Regions from separate parts of the Homo sapiens genome. Here regions 2 and 3 are each linked to region 1. The links are contacts of gene promoters, found by promoter capture Hi-C in blood cells and fetal thymus (Javierre and others, 2016). All regions are on one chromosome and are shown on one strand. Each heading gives the region's core, a stretch centred on a gene start or on the middle of the fragment in contact. The rest is flanking DNA. Distances are from core to core; before and after follow the strand shown.

What was found. The method cuts DNA at HindIII sites, captures the fragments that hold promoters and counts their contacts. A CHiCAGO score of 5 or more calls a contact.
Region 2: a contact is called between a fragment that was not itself captured here and the fragment with the promoter of STRBP in region 1, in 1 of 17 cell types (total B cells). The highest score is 5.5, in total B cells.
Region 3: a contact is called between a fragment that was not itself captured here and the fragment with the promoter of STRBP in region 1, in 1 of 17 cell types (naive B cells). The highest score is 6.9, in naive B cells.

Annotation. Positions count from the first base shown.
Region 1 is chr9:123,266,760-123,270,465 of GRCh38, forward strand. It overlaps STRBP (spermatid perinuclear RNA binding protein), which reads right to left and starts at 1,827. Exons shown (of 19, transcript NM_018387.5): 1 at 1,677-1,827. RefSeq lists silencers at 1,553-1,602, 1,773-2,252 and an enhancer at 1,653-2,153. The HindIII fragment of the contact is 5,570 bases long and covers 1-3,098 here.
Region 2 is chr9:123,199,263-123,203,215 of GRCh38, forward strand. The region is part of intron 2 of STRBP (spermatid perinuclear RNA binding protein); the gene reads right to left. Among named protein-coding and RNA genes, the nearest start is that of STRBP, 67 kb to the right of the region's middle. The HindIII fragment of the contact is 1,676 bases long and covers 415-2,090 here.
Region 3 is chr9:123,181,591-123,185,315 of GRCh38, forward strand. STRBP (spermatid perinuclear RNA binding protein) reads right to left here. Exons shown (of 19, transcript NM_018387.5): 3 at 2,542-2,708. The coding sequence starts at 2,544. Among named protein-coding and RNA genes, the nearest start is that of MIR600HG, 68 kb to the left of the region's middle. The HindIII fragment of the contact is 4,656 bases long and covers 1-3,725 here.

The DNA.
Region 1 (3,706 bases), core at 577-3,076:
CATGTCCACATACACCTCTGCCTTGCCCTTCCCTTACTCCACTATAGGTATTAAGCATTCTTCTACATCCTCTACCCCAAAATAGCCTGTCTACCTTCCTTCTTTCTCCCTACCTCCCTTCTCCCTACAGCACAAAATTCAGTGCCCCAAACCTGTGCTTCCCTCCCTCCACCTACTGTACTCCAGACCTGTCCACCTTCCCCTCCAGTCTATCCCGTTGTCCCCCTCTACTGATTTCGTTCTCACCCTCCCCTCCACCTTCCTCCTCCCCAACCGCTCCACACTTCCCGCCTCAGAAATCTTTCCTTCCATTTGTCCCCACACTTTACCTGCCACTCCAAGAACACTTCCCTTTCCCCACCCCCTTTTGCCCTCCACCTCACACACTCCACGCCACCCCACACCTGTCCCTCTCCCCCAGCTCCTGCCCCTAACGTCCTCCAACACTTGCCAAGAACCCCTCACCCTCCGTCCTACCTCAAAATTCCCTCTCTTGCTGATCCCACCTTCTTCCATACTTCCTGCATAAACACCCTCCATTTCACGCACTTCTCCCGCTATCCTTTAAATGCCCCACACACCTCCTGCTCTCCATCCCCATCACCCTTCTCCTACTGTCCCCACCTCTCTCTGCAAGCCCTCAAACTAAGTCTCTGCCCCAATGAACTTCCCCCTTCCACCCCATACTCCTCTTCCCTGAGCACCAGATACCTGCCTTTTTATCCTTACATGTCAACCCCCTCCCGCCTCCCTGCAGGCTCCCCTATACACCTGGCCACACACTCCCTCACACCCCTCGCAGGTCTCCTGGAGCCCCTGGGCCTACCCTTCATTTCCCTATCACCCCAGAAGCCTAGGCACCCTGCTCCCCTCCCTCCCTTTCAGGCGCTCCCTGCCTGCCCTCACTTCCCCCTGCCCCGACCCCCTCCTCCATCGTTCCCCTTCACGGGCGTCCCGGTGGCCTTCCTAATACCCGCCCCACTCCCTGCCCCTGGCACGCAGCGCTCCTTCCAGTCCTGCTCGAGTCCCCAGTCTTCTCCCTCCATTCCCACCCCACTCGTCCCTGCCCTCCCCAAAAGCCCCCTCATTCCCTCTTGAACCCCACAATATAGTGCCCCCCCCCACCGGACGGAATGTCCTCCATCTCGCACTCGCCTGGCCCAGGGGGCCCCCCAAACCTGCCTGAAGGCTCTCCTCCTCCATTGGGCCGGATCCCTCTGCACCCCTATTTACCCCCAAATCTGCCCACACCTTCCGCCTGCCCCCCGAAGCCTCTCCCCAGCTCCTGCCCCCAATGTCCTCCAACACCTGCCCCGAGCCCCGAGCCCTCCGTCCCGGAAGACCTCCCGGCACCGCGTCCCCCAACCCTGCCCACGCCCTCCCCTGATCGGCCGGGACCCCGTCCCCGCGAAGGTGAGGAAGGCTGCCCGCTGCCCTTGCCCGAAGCGGCCGGGGCACCGCAGCGGCGGCGGCGGCGGCCACAATGCCGGAGCCGCGGGGCCGGGATTGCTCCCTGCTCTCCGCCTCGGCCGCCACCGCCGCCGCCGCTGCTAAGGACGCACAACAAACAATGCGGGGCCCGGGCCGGCTCCGCCAACCGCCTCAACCGCCGCCTTAACCGCCGCCCGCCCGGGACGGCCCGCCGCGCAGGCGCCCGCCCCGCCGCCGGAGCCTACCCGCGCCGCCGCGCTCTGCCCGCGCCCGGTACCCGCTCCCGCTCCGCCGCCGCCGCCACCTCGCCCGCTCGCGTCTCCGGCTCCTCTGCCCAGCGGCGGCGGCTGCGGCGGCTGCTGCCCTGGTGGCGCTCGCGGCTCCGGTCTCCGCTTCGGCGGCGGCAGCGGCGGCAGCGAGCACGTGACACCGTCGAGCGCGCCCATTGGCCAGGCCAGGGGGCGGGCCCCGCGGCTGCTGGGGAACGGAAAGCCCGCCCCCTCGTTCGCCGCGCGCCCCCTCCACGCGCGTCCTGCCGCACCTGAGAGCGCCGGCCAGCGCCCGCCGCCGCCTTGCTGTGCCGCCGCCTGCGCCAAGTGCGCACCTGGGAGCGCGCAGGGAGCACTCGCCGCCGGCGGCCTTATGCACCTGCCAGCGGACGCTTACGTAAACTGCGTCCCCGCCTTCCTCCCGGCCCCAGGCCCCCGCTCGCTGCAGCACCTGAGCCCCGCTGCGCTAGCGGCGTAACTGCGGCGGAGCGGAGACGAGCTGCGCTGGGAGGCTAGCGAAATGCACGGAAACTTCGTAACTTCCGAACCTGGGAGCTGCGCCGAGCCGCGGCGGCTAGCCGCCTTCCCCGGGCCCCGCACCCCAGTGCGGGATGCCCCCCAACCCCAGCAGCCACACAAATGGAGTAGGCGTCGCACTGCCTCCCGAGGTAGAGGGGCAGGCCAGTAGGCTTTGACTTGTGCCACCGCCCACCTACTTGCTGGCTGTGTGACCTTGGCCAAGTTACCAAGAACCGTTCTGAGCCTCAGTTTCCTCATCAGGAAAACTGGGACAATAATTCCAATTTAGGAGCTGTTGGGGAGATGGCATAAGACAATAGGTGTGAATCCTGGCACACAGCAGTCGCTGAACAGAAGCTGCTACAATCACCTCTCCTTCACCTGCCTATAATGAACCTCGCTGGGATTGAGTTTGGGCCCAGGACCTCTCTGACCTCCTTATGGTTGGGTCAGACTTTGGCTGAACACCTACCAGCTCTGTGCCAGGGGCGGCGCTGGGGAAGAATTAAAGGTTCGCTTTCTATTCTACAGTCCCTGGCCTCAAGTTCTTGGTGCCCAGCATTCTGCTTGCCAGTATACAGTCCCTGCTGTATACCGGGGGGTTTGCAGGCTGCAGGGATGCACTGGCAAATGAGACAATGTCTTTGCCCTAAGACAATTCCCAGCCTGGAGCAGAAACGACCTGACCACTCAGTGCCAAGACAGAGGACCTTGAACAGCCCAGGGGTTGAGGAGGGACTCCCCACAACAGCCCCCTTGGGGCCCCTTTTCATCTTTCTAACACACCAGGCTCAAATATTTTAACAGCTCTGTTTCATTCACAGAATAAAGTGTAAAAAACCCAATTTCAACTGAAAAGGCCTTGGTGATCTGGCCTTAAGCTTCAAGGTGCACGCCCTTCCCTTTGCCCCTCCTTCAGGCCAATGTGACCCTCCAGCCACACAGAACTACAGTACTGTTGTTTCCAGAGTATGCCCAGGTGTGTAGGAGCCTGAGTCTCCTGAGACAGATGCCAGGCCGCAAATCCCTTTCTAAACCCTCTCCCCACCTCTGACCACTCACACCTTCCTTGACCCTCCTGAAAAAAATCCTGGGTATCCTTATCAATCAGCTCAGAGTATATTCTCTGGAGATCCTTGGCTGCCTCAGACACATGGTCTAAGCTCCCTCGGCTTGAACATAGTCCTGTTAAGCTATATGTATTCTCATGGCACTAGATTGTAATTGTTTAGCTGTCTGTCTCCTCCCTGGTCTCTCAGTCCCTTGAGGACAGGGTCATCTTCCTGCCTAAGTGTGTTAGGGAAGACTACACGTGCACATGACATGAGATCATTAAAGCTGGGTTTTGTAGGATGCCCATAAGTATCAGAGGGAGAAGAGGCGCCACACTGTAAAGATCCAGATTCACTGCACACTAGCTGTGTGATCTTGGAAAATCAATCTCTCTAGTCTAAGTTTACTCATCTGCCAAGTGAGACTAATAGTAT
Region 2 (3,953 bases), core at 3-2,502, 68 kb before region 1:
TACTGTTTTGGTAACTGTATCCTCGTAGTACAGTTTGAAGTCCAGTAATGTGATGCCTCCAGATTTGTTATTTTTGCTTAGAATGGCTTTGACTACGCAGGCTCTTTTTTGGTTCCACACGAATTTTAGGATTGTTTTTTCTAATTCTGTGAAAAATGATGTTGGTATTTTGATGGGAAGTGCATTGAATCTGTAGATTGCTTTGGGCAGTATAGTCATTTTCACAATATTGATTCTTCCAATCCATGGGCATAGGATGTGTTTCCATTTGTTTGTATCATCTACAGTTTCTTTCAGCAGTGCTTTGTAGTTCTCCTTGTAGAGATCTTTCACCTCCTTGGTTAGGTATATTCCTAGTTATTTTATTTTATTTGCAGATGTTATAAAAGGGACTGAGTTCTTGATTTGATTCTAAGCTTGATCATTGCTGGTGTATAGCAGTGCTATCGATTTGTGTACACTGATATTACAAACTGAGAGTTTACTGAATTTGTTTATCAAATCTAAGAGTCTTTATGACTTTCTAGCCATACAATCATATCATCTGCAAACAGCAATAATTTGACTCTCTCCTTTCCAATTTGGATACCCTTTATTTCTTTCTCTTGCCTAACTGATCTGGCTAGTACTTCCAGAACTATGTTTAATAGGAGTGGTGAAAGTGGGCATCCTTGTCTTGTTCCTGCTCTCGGGGAAATGCTTTCAACTTTTCCCCATTCCGTATGATGTTGGCTGTGCGTTAGTCATAGACGGCTTTTATTATTTTAAGGTAGGTCCCTTCCATGCCTACTCTCAACAGTTTGTTGACAGTTTTTATCATAAAGTGTGCTGGATTTTGTCAAATGCTTTTTCTGCATCTATTGAGATGATCATATGGCTTTTGTTTTTAATTGTTTATGTGCTGTATCACATTTACTGACTTGCATATTTTAAACTACTCCTACTAGACAAGTTTCTTGAAAACAGCAGATACTTCGATTCTGTACCCATTCTGCCATGAAACCCACTTGATCATGATCAATTATCTTTTTGATGTGTTGTTGAATTCAGTTAGCTAATATTTTGTTGAGGATTTTTGCATCTATGTTCATCACAAAAATTGCTCTGCAGTTTTCTTCTTTTGTTGTGTCCTTTCCTAGTTTTCTAATTAGGGTGATACTGGTTTCACAGAATGATCTAGGGAGGATTCCTTCTCTCAATCTTTTGGAATAGTTTCAGTAGGATTGGTACCAAGTCTCTGAATGTCTGGTAGAATTCAGCTGTGAATTCATCTGATCCTGGGCTTTTTCTGTTGGCAATTTTTTTGTCTTTTTTTTTTTTTTTGAGACGGAATCTCACTCTGTCACCCAGGCTAGAGTGCAGTGGCGCGAACTCGGCTCACTGCAAGCTCCGCCTCCTGGGTTCACCCTATTCTCCTGTCTCAGCCTCCCGAGTAGCTGGGACTACAGGCGCCCCGCCACACACCCCGCTAATTTTTTTTTTTTTTTTTTTTTTTTTTTTAGTAGAGACCAGGTTTCACCATGTTAGCCAGGATGGTCTCGATGTCCTGACCTCATGAGCCGCCCGCCTCGGCCTCCCAACATGCTGGGATTACAGGCATGAGCCACCATGCCTGGCTGGCAATTTTTTAATTACTGATTTAATCTCACTGCTTGTTATTGGTCTGTTCAAGGTTTTATTTCTTCCTGATTTAATCTAGGAAGGTTGTACGTTTCCAGGAATTTGACCATTTCCTCTGGCTTTTCTAGTTTGTGCACATAAAGGTGTTAATAGTAGTCTGGAATGATCTTTTGTATTTCTGTGGTGTCAAGTGCAATGTCACCAGTTTCATTTCTAATTGAGCTTATTTGGGCCTTCTCTCTTCTTGATTAATCTAGCTCATGGTCTATCAATTTTATTTTTTCGAAGCGACAGCATATTTCACTGATCTTTTGTATTTTTTTGTGTGTGTTTGAATTTCATTTAGTTCTGCTCTGATCTTTGTTACTTCTTCTTCTAGCTTTTTGTTCCTGTTTCTCCAGTTCCTTGAGGTGTGACATTAGGTTGTCAATTTGTGCTCTGAAATTCTGATGTAGGCATTTAGTGCTATAAGCTTTCCCTCAGCACTGCTTTTGCTGTATCCCAAAGGTTTTGATAACTTGTCTCATTATTATCATTCATTTCAAAGAATTTTAAAATTTCCATCTTGGTTTCATTGTTAACCCAGATATCATTCAGGAGCAGAATATTTAATTTCCATGTATTTGTACAGTTTTGAGAGTTCCTTTTTGACTAGTACTTCCAGAACAGTACTTCTTTGACTAGTACAAACTAGAGTTGATTTCTAGTTTTATGCCGCTGTGGTCTGCAGGGATACTGGATATAATTTCGATTTTTTAAAATTTATTGAGACTTGCTTTGTGGCCTATCATATAATCTATCTTGGACAATGTTCCATGTGCTGATAAAAATGTATATTCTGCAGATCTTAGGTAGAATGTTCTCTAAATATCAGTCCATTTGTTCTAGCATTTCGTTTAAGTCCACTGTTTCTCAGTTGACTTTTAGTCTCAAAGATCTGTCTAGTGCTGTCAGTGGTGTACTGAAATCTACCACTGCTATTGTTTTGCTGTCTATCTCATTTCTTAGGTCTAGCAGTAATCGTTTTACAAATCTGGGAGTTCCAGTGTTAGGTGCGTATAACTTTAGAATTGTAATATCTTGTTGAATTGATTGTTTTATTATTATATAGTGACTATATTTGCCTTTACTGTTGTTGAAGTTTGTTTTGTCTAAGAATAGCTACTCCTGTTTGCTTTTGGTTTCCATTTATGTAGAATACCTTTTTCCACTTTTCTGAGTTTACAGGACTCCTTCTCTGTTAGGTGAGTTTCTTGAAGACAGCAGATATTTGGATTCTGTATCCATTCTGCCATTCTGTATGTTAGGTGGAGCTAGTTTAGGCCACTGACATTCAATGCTAATATTGAGATGTGAAGTATCATTCTCTTCCTCATGTTGTTACCTAGTTTGTTTGTTTGCTTTTTTCATTGTATAATTGTTTTACAGATCCTGTGGGTTTTAAGCTTTCCACTTTGGTGTATATCAGGCTTTTGTTTCAAGGTTTATAACTCCTTTTAGCATTTCTTGTAGTGCTGGTTTGGTAGGGACAAATTCCCCTGGCATTTGTTTAAAATGACTTTATTTCTCCTTCATTTACAAAACTTAGTTTTGTGGGATAAAAAATTCTTGGCTGACAGTTGTTCTGTTTAAAGAGGTTGAAGACAGGACCCTAATCTCTTTTGGCTTGTAAGGTTTCTGCTGAGAAGTCTGCTGTTACTTTGATAGGTTTTCCTTTGTAGGTTATCTGATGCTTTTGTCTTACTGGCTTTAGAATTCTTTCCTTCATCAGTTAACAAAAATTTACTGTACATTTAAAAATAGATAAAAGAGTATAACTGGAATGTCTGTTACACAAAGAAATGAAAAATGCTTAAAGTGATAGATGCCCCATTTACCCTAATGTGATTGTTATCCATTGTATGCCTATCAGAACATCACACCTACTCCATAAATATATACACCTACTATCTACCCTTAAAAAACTGAAAATTAAAATTTAAAAATCTAAAAAATAAAAATAAAATAAAATCTGATGACTTTTAACCACGTCCACCATAACCAACCTGGTCAGAGCAACCACCATCTCTCACTTGGATTATACATTGCCTTCCAACTAGTTATCTTACTTCCCCACCTGAAAATAAACCCTTCCCCAGAGTTTATTCTCAGCAACAGCATCCAGAGTATTCCTGCTAATCTACATTAGCATCCAGGCATGGTGACTCACACCTGTAATCCTAATACTTTGGGAGGCTAAGATGGGAGGACTGCTTGAGGCCAGGAGTTCAAGACAGCCTGGGCAATATAACAAGACCCTCTCTCTACAAAAAATTTAGGCAGGCATGGTGGCG
Region 3 (3,725 bases), core at 614-3,113, 85 kb before region 1:
GTTCGAGACCAGTCTGACCAACATGAAGAAACCTCGTCTCTACTAAAAATATAAATTTAGCCAGGCATGGTGGTTGGTGCATGCCTGTAATCCCAGCTACTTGGGAGGCTGAGGCAGGAGAATTGCTTGAACCCAGGAGGCGGAGGTTGCAGTGAGCTGAGATCACACAATTGCACTCCAGCCTCAGCAACAAGAGCAAAACTTCGTCTCAAAAAAAAAAAAAAAAAAAAAAAAAAAAAAAAAAAAGAAACAGTAACAGGAAAAATTGAAGAAATGCAGAGAAATCTTATTTACTCAAATAAGCTCTAAACAGATTTTCTTTAAGTATTGAAAAAATAAATCAGACTGGGCACAGTGGCTCACGCCTGTAATCCCAACACTTTGGCTCACGAGGAGGGTGGATCATCAGAGGTCAGGAGTTCAAGACCAGCCTGGCCAACATGGTGAAACCCTATCTCTACTAAAAATACAAAAATTAGCCAGGTATGGTGGTACACCCCTACAGTCCCAGCTACTCAGGAGGCTGAGGCAGAAGAATTACTTGAACCCGGGACACAGAGGTTGCAGTGAGCTGAGATCGTGCCATTGCACTCCAGCCTGGGCAACAGAGTGAGACTCCGTTTCTTTAAAAAAAAAAAAAAAAAAAAAAAAAAAAAAAGACAAAAAATTAAATCAGAAGAACCATGCAGAAAGAGAAAATTCTCATTGCAATCTGAGATCTAAAAAGCAAGTAATAAGAGAAACCAGAAAATACTCATCAATTAAATTATATAAAAACACAAAATTTATACACCAGAAAATCTAAGCTGAATTTAAAAAGAATAAACTAAGGAAGACATCTTCATCCACTCTGAAAAATAATAAAGCATTTCTTTTAGTTGTAAGAATATCAAGACTATAAGAAATGAGCGGAATGAGAGGTAAATAATTCACATGGTAAGATATAAAAGAATCAGTGTGGTTTTTTCACATTTCACCACATAACTAAAATGACAGGGAAAATCCCAAGTTAACATTTGTTCCCACAATCTAGATCTAAAATATCAGAATTTCTTCTCTAAGGAGTCAGCTGATTAAGTTATAATCCTTGGCACAAATATTTTTAAAAGCAAGTAACATTTAAAGAAACATCACCAGGCTGGGCACGGTGCCTCACGCCTATAATCCCAGCACTTTGGAAGGCTAAGGCAGCAGCAGGGTTCCTTGAGCCAAGGCGTTCCAGACCAGCCTGGGCAACAAAGCAAAACCCTGTCTCTACAAAAAATTTAAAAATTTGCCAGATGTGGTGGCATGCGCCTATAAGGCCAAGCTACTTGGGAGGCTTGAGGCAGGAAGATCCTTTGAGCCCAAGGAGTTGGAGTTTGCAGTGAGCTATGATCATGTCACTGCACTCCAGCCTGGAGGACAGAGCAAGATCCTGTCTCAAAAAAAAAAAAAAAAAAAAAAAACAAAAAATCAAAAAAATCACCACCAACAGACCGGCTAAACAACATATTCCAAATAATCATACTGGTGATTAATATTTTCTGCTTTTTCTCTCACTGGTAATGTGTTTTTAAAATCTTGGCCAGGCACGGTGGCTGATGCTTGTAATCCCAGCACTTTGGGAGGCTGAGGTGGGTGGATCACCTGAGGTCAGTTTGAGACCAACCTGGCCAACATGGCGAAACCCCGTCTCTACTAAAAATAAAAAAAATTAGCTGGGTATGGTGGCGGGCACCTATAATCCCAGCTACTCGGGAGGCTAAGGCAGGGAGAATTGCTTGAACCTGGGAGACGGAGGTTGCAGTGAGCCGAGATTGCGCCATTGCATTCCAGCCCGGGCAACAGGGTGAGACTCCGTCTTTAAAAAAAAAAAAGAAACCTTTTCTCGCTTATACTTAGGAGAAAAAAAATTCATATAACACCCTCCAGAACTCATAATACTAAGGGAAAAAAAATCAGCACATTTTACCAATTAAAAGCCTAGGCACCAGAGACTATGAGCTCATCTAACATCACAAATTCAATTTAAGTCTGAACTCTTCCCAAAAAGCAAGGTTTCTTTGATTCTCAATTCAGTGCCCCTACTATACTCAGCACTTGACCCTATTATTTTAAAAGTATGAAAAAGAGGTGGCTTTTTCAGTTAAACATTCACACATATTATAAACTTCTACATCATTCATATCACTAATTAAAGGACTGGTTCAGAATTTTTAATTTCCACAAGAAAAAAAACTGAACTTAAAGTTAAAAACCTAGCTATTTGTATCAGTTTGCTAATGCCAGTTTTATTAGAAAATATTATTTATGAGCATTTCCTCCTTTGTTTTAATAATTCATGGCCTACAGGCTCATGAGGCCCTACCTTGTGGTTTACATAGCTTGTAGTAAATCTGAATTCATTCGCTTTGAATAGTAGAGTGCCATCTTTATATGACACACTAAAGCCAAAAATTAACACCACTGTTTTTCATTTGCCCTCACTGTTAACATTTCTAATTTTAAATTACTGGAGTCTTTTGTAACTAAATTATGAAAATATCCACAATAACCTACCATGGTTTTCTATAGTATTTTAGCTTCTTTTTCCGATCCTTTCCCCTCTTTCTTGTCGTCTTCACTAGACACTGTTTTGTGTAACAATACCTCCTCATAAGCCTGAGTCCCCTGACAGCTCAGCGTCAATATAGCAAATGTCTGAAGGCTTGTTCTCTGGAACACACCTGCAAGAGAAGAGGAAAACAACTTCAAAAATGCTTATTTACTATTAGCTTCCAATATGAGTGTGCAACCCATAAACATGTTCCTGATTAAAAAGAAATAAACTCAATAGAGGAAAATTCCCTCAGTTCAAACAAAAAGCTAACACATCTTTTGAAGGCCTGGGCCCAGGAGCCTAGGTGATATGGCCAGAAAAGTAAGCCTCCTGTAGCTACAATGTGGCAGCTGGCTGACTAGCACTCAATGAGATAAATACATTTGCAAAGAGATTCAGTCAAGAAGCACCACCTGAAAGAGTAATACTACCACTGATGGCAACAAGTTGCAGTTAACCATTAGATTTTCAATCAGAAATTGGCATTACTCAGACCCATCTGAAAATTCAGTAAAGACACCTGAAAATACAACAATACCAATGATTATTCCATGATGCTTTTACATTGGATACTGCCATTAAAGAGTACATGTTGGCACAATGTTTGTTCTTTAATTTTTTTCAGCCTAAAATTCAGAATGCTTTTTTGGCTCTACTTCCTAACTCCCAAAAGGCCCTATTTGTCCCTGGGCCTGTATGCACTGCTATGCCAGACTCCTGAATATTCACTAGATCCTGACTTCATTACCCCTGGATGTCCCTCACCAGATTTCCACAGTATTATTTCTATCCAGAGTCCTAATCATTGTTACTTATTTTGTTCCACCTTTATGAGATTTTATTCCAGACATAGTAAAAGTAAACTTTTCTGAGCACTGATGAAACACTTATATTATAAACCTAGCTACAAGAAAAGGAGAAAAAAATTAAAAAAAAAAACCAGAACATCAAAATACAGCACATGCTTTAACTATGTGGCTATAAGAGGACATAATTTACATACCATATATCGTATAAACTCACAAAGAAAATAACTTTCTCTTCATTTAAATATCTTTCCTTTAATAAGGAAACACCCTATTGTCAGTAACAGTTTCTTAATATTAGCAGTTAGGCCAAGTGAGGTGACTCATGCCTGTAATCC